Linked DNA regions of Homo sapiens: region 1 is linked to region 2. Evidence: promoter capture Hi-C in human tissues and cell types (Jung and others, 2019). All regions are on one chromosome and are shown on one strand. The core of a region is centred on a gene start or on the middle of the fragment in contact, and the rest is flanking DNA. Distances in the headings are between cores, read along the strand shown.

What was found. The method cuts DNA at HindIII sites, captures the fragments that hold promoters and counts their contacts. A contact is called where the count stands out against the background at its distance.
Region 1: a contact is called between a fragment that was not itself captured here and the fragment with the promoter of TOMM5 in region 2, in 1 of the 25 tissues and cell types used here (mesenchymal stem cells).

The regions. Positions count from the first base shown.
Region 1 is chr9:37,021,193-37,023,892 of GRCh38, reverse strand. The region is part of intron 1 of PAX5 (paired box 5); the gene reads left to right. Among named protein-coding and RNA genes, the nearest start is that of PAX5, 12 kb to the left of the region's middle. RefSeq lists a silencer at 1,056-1,105. The HindIII fragment of the contact is 4,288 bases long and covers 1-2,700 here.
Region 2 is chr9:37,591,153-37,593,852 of GRCh38, reverse strand. TOMM5 (translocase of outer mitochondrial membrane 5) reads left to right here and starts at 1,256. Exons shown (of 2, transcript NM_001001790.3): 1 at 1,256-1,441. The coding sequence starts at 1,321. RefSeq lists an enhancer at 900-1,659. The HindIII fragment of the contact is 28,692 bases long and covers 1-2,700 here.

The DNA.
Region 1 (2,700 bases), core at 148-2,647, 570 kb after region 2:
TGCCTGACTCTCCACATGTATCAATACCATTAGGGAGACTTCTTCCCTGCCCTTTCCCTGTGCCCCTGTTTGCCTGTCTGTGTACCCCTTCATTCTTTCTGGTGCATCTAGGAAAAATTTTAATGATCTTGTGGGGGTCCTGGAGCTCAATCTGTGGCTGAGTCAGCAAAGTCCCTTTCCCCAAAATCCTATGCTCAGCCATGGTCTTTGGGGGTATTGGGAGGGCCTGTGGTGGGTAGCATGACCTTATCAGGGCCTGAGGAGCATCTGTGGAGGCCAGCCCTTTCCATACCAGAGTCACAAAGGCCTCAGGGGCCTCTGCAATTCAGTCTTTCTCTCCTCACTCCCCTCCAAACACTGCCCAGTCTGCCCTGTCCTGTGGTCTGTCTTTTTCTTGTATCTGTGGGTCTGTTTCCTGGTCTTCACCTGATTTGTTTGCCTCTGTCTCTGTGTCAGTCCCCCTTTCACGGGATGAGTCCTCACCTAACTGGAGTCCATAGGAAGTACAGGCTGGGACTTGGGTTCTCCAAGAAGATGCAGGGCCAGAGCTGGCACCCCAGAAAACAAAGGTCCTCTGTCTAGAGAAGTCCCCTGTCCTCCAGAAGCCCCTTCCTGGGCTTCCTCCATTTTCTCTTCTTATTGCCTCCCGTTGTGTGCCACCTTCGTCTTTCTTTTCTTGGCCTATTCTAGCTTCTCCATTCCTTTTCCCTCTCCTCTGCCTGCCTAACCTGCTGCTTCCTTTCCAGGCTCTCTCTCTCCTGGTTGTCTGTCTCATTCAGTTCCCACTCTTTACACTTCTCTTAACACACCTCTTTTTTCCTCTTTTCTTTCCCTGTCCTGCCTCGCCTCATTCAGACTTTGGACTTCACTTCTTACCAATTCCAGAGTAAGTGACCTTCCTCACACCATAGTTGTAAACCTTCTCACCACCACCCTCTAAGAGCTCTATTGGGTAGGATTGTGATGGTGGAGAAGGCCAAGGGGTCTTGGGGACCTTTCAAGGAAGTTGAGGAAGGTAACAGGCTCCCAGGTCACCCCAAGTCTGTTGTCAGCTGTGGACCTATAGATGAGATTGTGAAAGAGCATTACTATCTCAGCCTATGTGGTCAAGGGTAGAGGGTTTGGGGACCTGCTCTCACCTTGAGAGACCTGGCTCTAGGAGACCTTTAGGGTTTTCCCATGATACAAAACAGCCCCCAGTGCTCATAAATGTCCTGCAGGACTGCTTTTGGAATTTAAGTCCTCTGAAGGTTGCCACTGTGTTTTGGGCAGAAAGTCTCAATTGTCAGTGACATAGAGAACAGGCTATTGCAGATGGACCATAATACCTGGACTCCCAGGTCATATCAAAAGTGTGCTGGGTGTTTAAGCTTCCTTTGCCTGCCCTTTGTTTTCCCAGATGAGCTTATACCAATTTTGAATTTATTTTCTTTTACTTAAATCCAGCCTGCTCTTGAAAGATCTGTACAACCTTTTTAAATAGGTGTTCCCAGCCCCAGAACAAAGCCTTCTGAAGGCTCTTGGCCAGGGTGGCTGCAGTCTTTCTGTTTTAGAAAAACTATGCAATTATGTTTCTAACTGCAAAATCCTATTTGGAATGGTTTTCCTTTTTCTTATGTCTTTTAGAACAATCAAAACTGAATAAAGATCATTTTGAAAATCAGAAATCCAGCTTAGAACTGCAACTAAGTACTTCAGTTATCTATAAAATTGTGTTTTTCCTTGAAATAAGCCTGAGCCTGGACGTTTTTGGGAAATATTCATGGGAAACTTGAGTGGATTGCTTGGACAGTTTTTAGGAAATACATTATATTATGGGGGTTTTTGCTCCCTTTATTTCAGATGAGGTTCATGAACCTGGGTTGTAGTTTAGTACTGGGGAGAAATAGCTGAGATGAGGTGGCTATTTCATATTTTAGAGTTGAGTATATATGTGTGTGAGACCTTTGAGGTCTTTCCCTTGTACGGTCCAGTCCTAGTCCAGTCTTGGTTCAGGAGGAGTTTCCCCTTCCTTTGCCTCTGAGCTGCCAGCAACATCAATAAATGCTTTGACTTGGCTTTGGGCTCCAGTCTTCAGCAACGTCAGTGAGTGACTAATTAACAGCTATAAGGTCAATGATGTTGCTGCATCGGATCACTCTGTGTTTACTGGTTTGGCTCTTCATTTACTTGAGTCCTTGTGTCCTTCCAGATGGACCTTGATGTAAGAGAAGGGTGGAGGAGGCACTTTCTCGGGCTCCTTTTACTTAAAATCTATCCCAGGACCCTTGTAAAACCTGGGATCCAGAGGCTTTTGTAGGTTTCTTTATTTTCCCTGGACCAAAATAAAGCTATATGTCAATTGCAAAACATTGTAAAAATTCCAGGGAAACTCCTTTATAACAAATCCCCGTGCAGTGGAGTGGAATGTGCTGTGTGTAGAAGATGCTATGACCCATTTCTTTTGTGTGCTTTGAGAAGGTACAGTGGTCAAGTCTGCATGTCAACCTCACCTTCTTAAAGGGAGGGTTTTAAACAAGGCAATGGTTGTTTTTTTTTCTCAGTACTCTGCAGGTGCTGTTAAATTTTTAAAAAATTCCTTAGCCCTTGAATTAGATTGCTGATTAAAAACAAAATTCCCTGAGATATAAGTTTATTGGAGTTGTTCTTTTCACTTTTAAAGACATTTGTTAAAAGGAAACGAGTTTTATTTTTTTCCTC
Region 2 (2,700 bases), core at 7-2,506:
TTTTAAAGACCTCTGTGCTTCAATAATCTGTAAAAAGGCCAGGTGCGGTGGCTCATGCCTGTAATCACGGCACTTTTGGGGGCCGAGGTGGGCAGATCACCTGAGATCAGGAGTTTCCAAGACCAGCCTGGCCAACATGGTGAAACCGCGTCTCTACAAAAAATACAAAATTTAGCCAGGCGTGGTGCTGCGCAACCGTAATCCCAGCTACTCAGGAGGCTGAGGCAGGAGAATCACTTGAACCTGGGAAGCAGCGGTTGCAGTGAGCTGAAATTGCGCCACTGCACTCCAGCCTGGGCGGCAGAGCGAGACTCTGTCTCCAAAAAAAAAAAAAAAAAAAAAAAAGTTTCATCTTTGTCTCTTTGTTTTAACTTATGTAAAGTTTCAAACATACTCAAGAAAGACTAGAATAATTAACTAAAATGAAGTACTAGTCACCAGCAGTTTTTAATATTTTGCTGACATCACTTATCTCTCTCAATACTTTTTTCCCCCTCTGAGGTATTTTTAAGCACATTTGGGGGCCAGGCGCGATAGCTCACGCCTGTAATCCCAGCACTTTGGGAGGCCGAGGCGGGAGGATCGCTTGGATCCTGGAACCCAGGAGTTCCAGAACAGTCTCAACCACCACAATTAGCAATAAAAAAATAAATAAAAATTAAAGCACATTTGGGCAAGATGTTTTAAAGATCTCTGTGCTTCAATTGTCTAATCTAGGAAACGAAGATTATAATATCGAATTCACGGGGGACAATTATATTGAATATTCAATAAATGTTAGTTATCACTGTTTACAGTGGTACCTATGTGCACAGCCCCCTCCAGCGCGTAAAAGCACTTTACAGCGCAGCGCTCCAGGCTCAAGATAGATGTTATTGTTGTTGTTATTATTATTATTATTATTATTATTTTGAGACGGAGTCTCGCTCGCTCTGTCGCCCAGGCTGGAGCGCAGTGGCGCGATCTCGGCTAACTGCAACATCCCCCTCCTGGGTTCAAGCGATTTTCCTGCCTCAGCCTCCCGAGTAGCTGGGATTGTAAGCACGCGCCACCGAGCCGGGCTGATTTTTGTATGACAGATGTTATTAAAGACAGCGTGGAGAAACCAGAGCCTGCGTTGCTGAGCTTGCGGCCGCCCGCTTCACACCGCACTTCAGATCAGCTGGGTCAGGACGTGGATTGTCCCGTGCAGGCATCCATCGTCGAGTGTGGCAACGAGAGGGCGGGAACAGGAAGTGAGGATAGGCCGAGTTCCGGGCGCGAGGCGGCCACCGTGGAGAGCAGAGCGCGGCGGCTGGAAGCTGCTAAGTCAGAGCCGCGATGTTCCGGATTGAGGGCCTCGCGCCGAAGCTGGACCCGGAGGAGATGAAACGGAAGATGCGCGAGGATGTGATCTCCTCCATACGGAACTTTCTCATCTACGTGGCCCTCCTGCGAGTCAGTGAGTGTCTCCCGGGCTGTGACTGTGAGACCAGCGGGGAGCTCACCGACGGGCACCCCTTAACTCTAAGGGGTCATCGGGGCCTTCGAACTGAGCTGAACGGTAGCGGGGAGCAAGGAGGGTGCGCGTTGAAGGCGACGGGCATATGCGCGGTTTGAGGTCTGCGGGTCAGGGTCCGGGCACTGAAGTGCACGTGGTGGCCGGCGCGCGTGTTTAATCATCCTGGTTCTCCCAGCTTGAAGAATGTTTGAGCTGCCGGGCGCGTTGGCTCACACCTGTAATCCCACCCAGCACTTTGTGAAGCCGAGGCGGGCGGATCATTTGGGGTCAGGAGTTCGTGGTGGCGGGCGCCTGTAATCCCAGCTCCTCGGGAGGCTAAGGTGGGAGGATTGCTTGAATCCAGGAGGCGGAGGTTGCAGTGAGCCGAGATCGCGACACTGCACTCCAGCTTGAGTGACAGAGCAAGACTCCATCTCAAAAAAAAGAATGTTTGAGCTGAAAGAGCTCAAGTAATTATCCCTAGAGGAACTCCCTCGTTTTTGCAGACAGAGAAACAGAGAAACAGAACCATAGTTCTAGAAGGAAGAAACAGCCTTCTTGGGAAGGCTGGCCAAAGGTCACTCAGCGATTCAGTGAATGATCTTGACCTAAAATCCAGAACTCTTAACTCAGTACCAGGTTCCTTCCCTTTCTTTTCTTTTCTTTTTTTTTTTTTTCCTCGATACACAGTCACGCCCTGTTGCCCAGGCTGGAGTGCAGTGGCGCAGTCTTGGCTCACTGCAACCTCTGCCTCCCGAGTTCAAGCCATTCTCCCACCTCAGCCTCCCAAGTAGCTGAGATTACAGGCGCGCGCCACCACGCCCGGCTAATTTTTGTATTTTTAGTAGAGATGGGTGTTTAACCATGTTGGCCAGGCCGGTCTCGAACTCCTGACCTCAGGTGATCCACCTGCCTCAGCCTCCCAAAGTGCTGGGATTACAGGCGTGAACCAGCGGCCGGGTTCCTTCCCTTTCAAAAGTGCTGACCTTTGAAATCCAAAAAGTTTTGCTTCATTTCTGTTTCTTTGTATAGAGGGTGAAGTGAGTCATTAGTTTTTTGGAAAAAAATGGGAAAAAAGAATATGAGTCTATAGGATTAATGCAAATATTTGAGGTTTTTTTTTCTATATCTTAAAATTGACAGGAAGTTACTCCCATTATATAGTCTTGACAGTGGACCTTTGAGGGAGGCAGGGCCTAAGATTCTTTATATCATTTTAC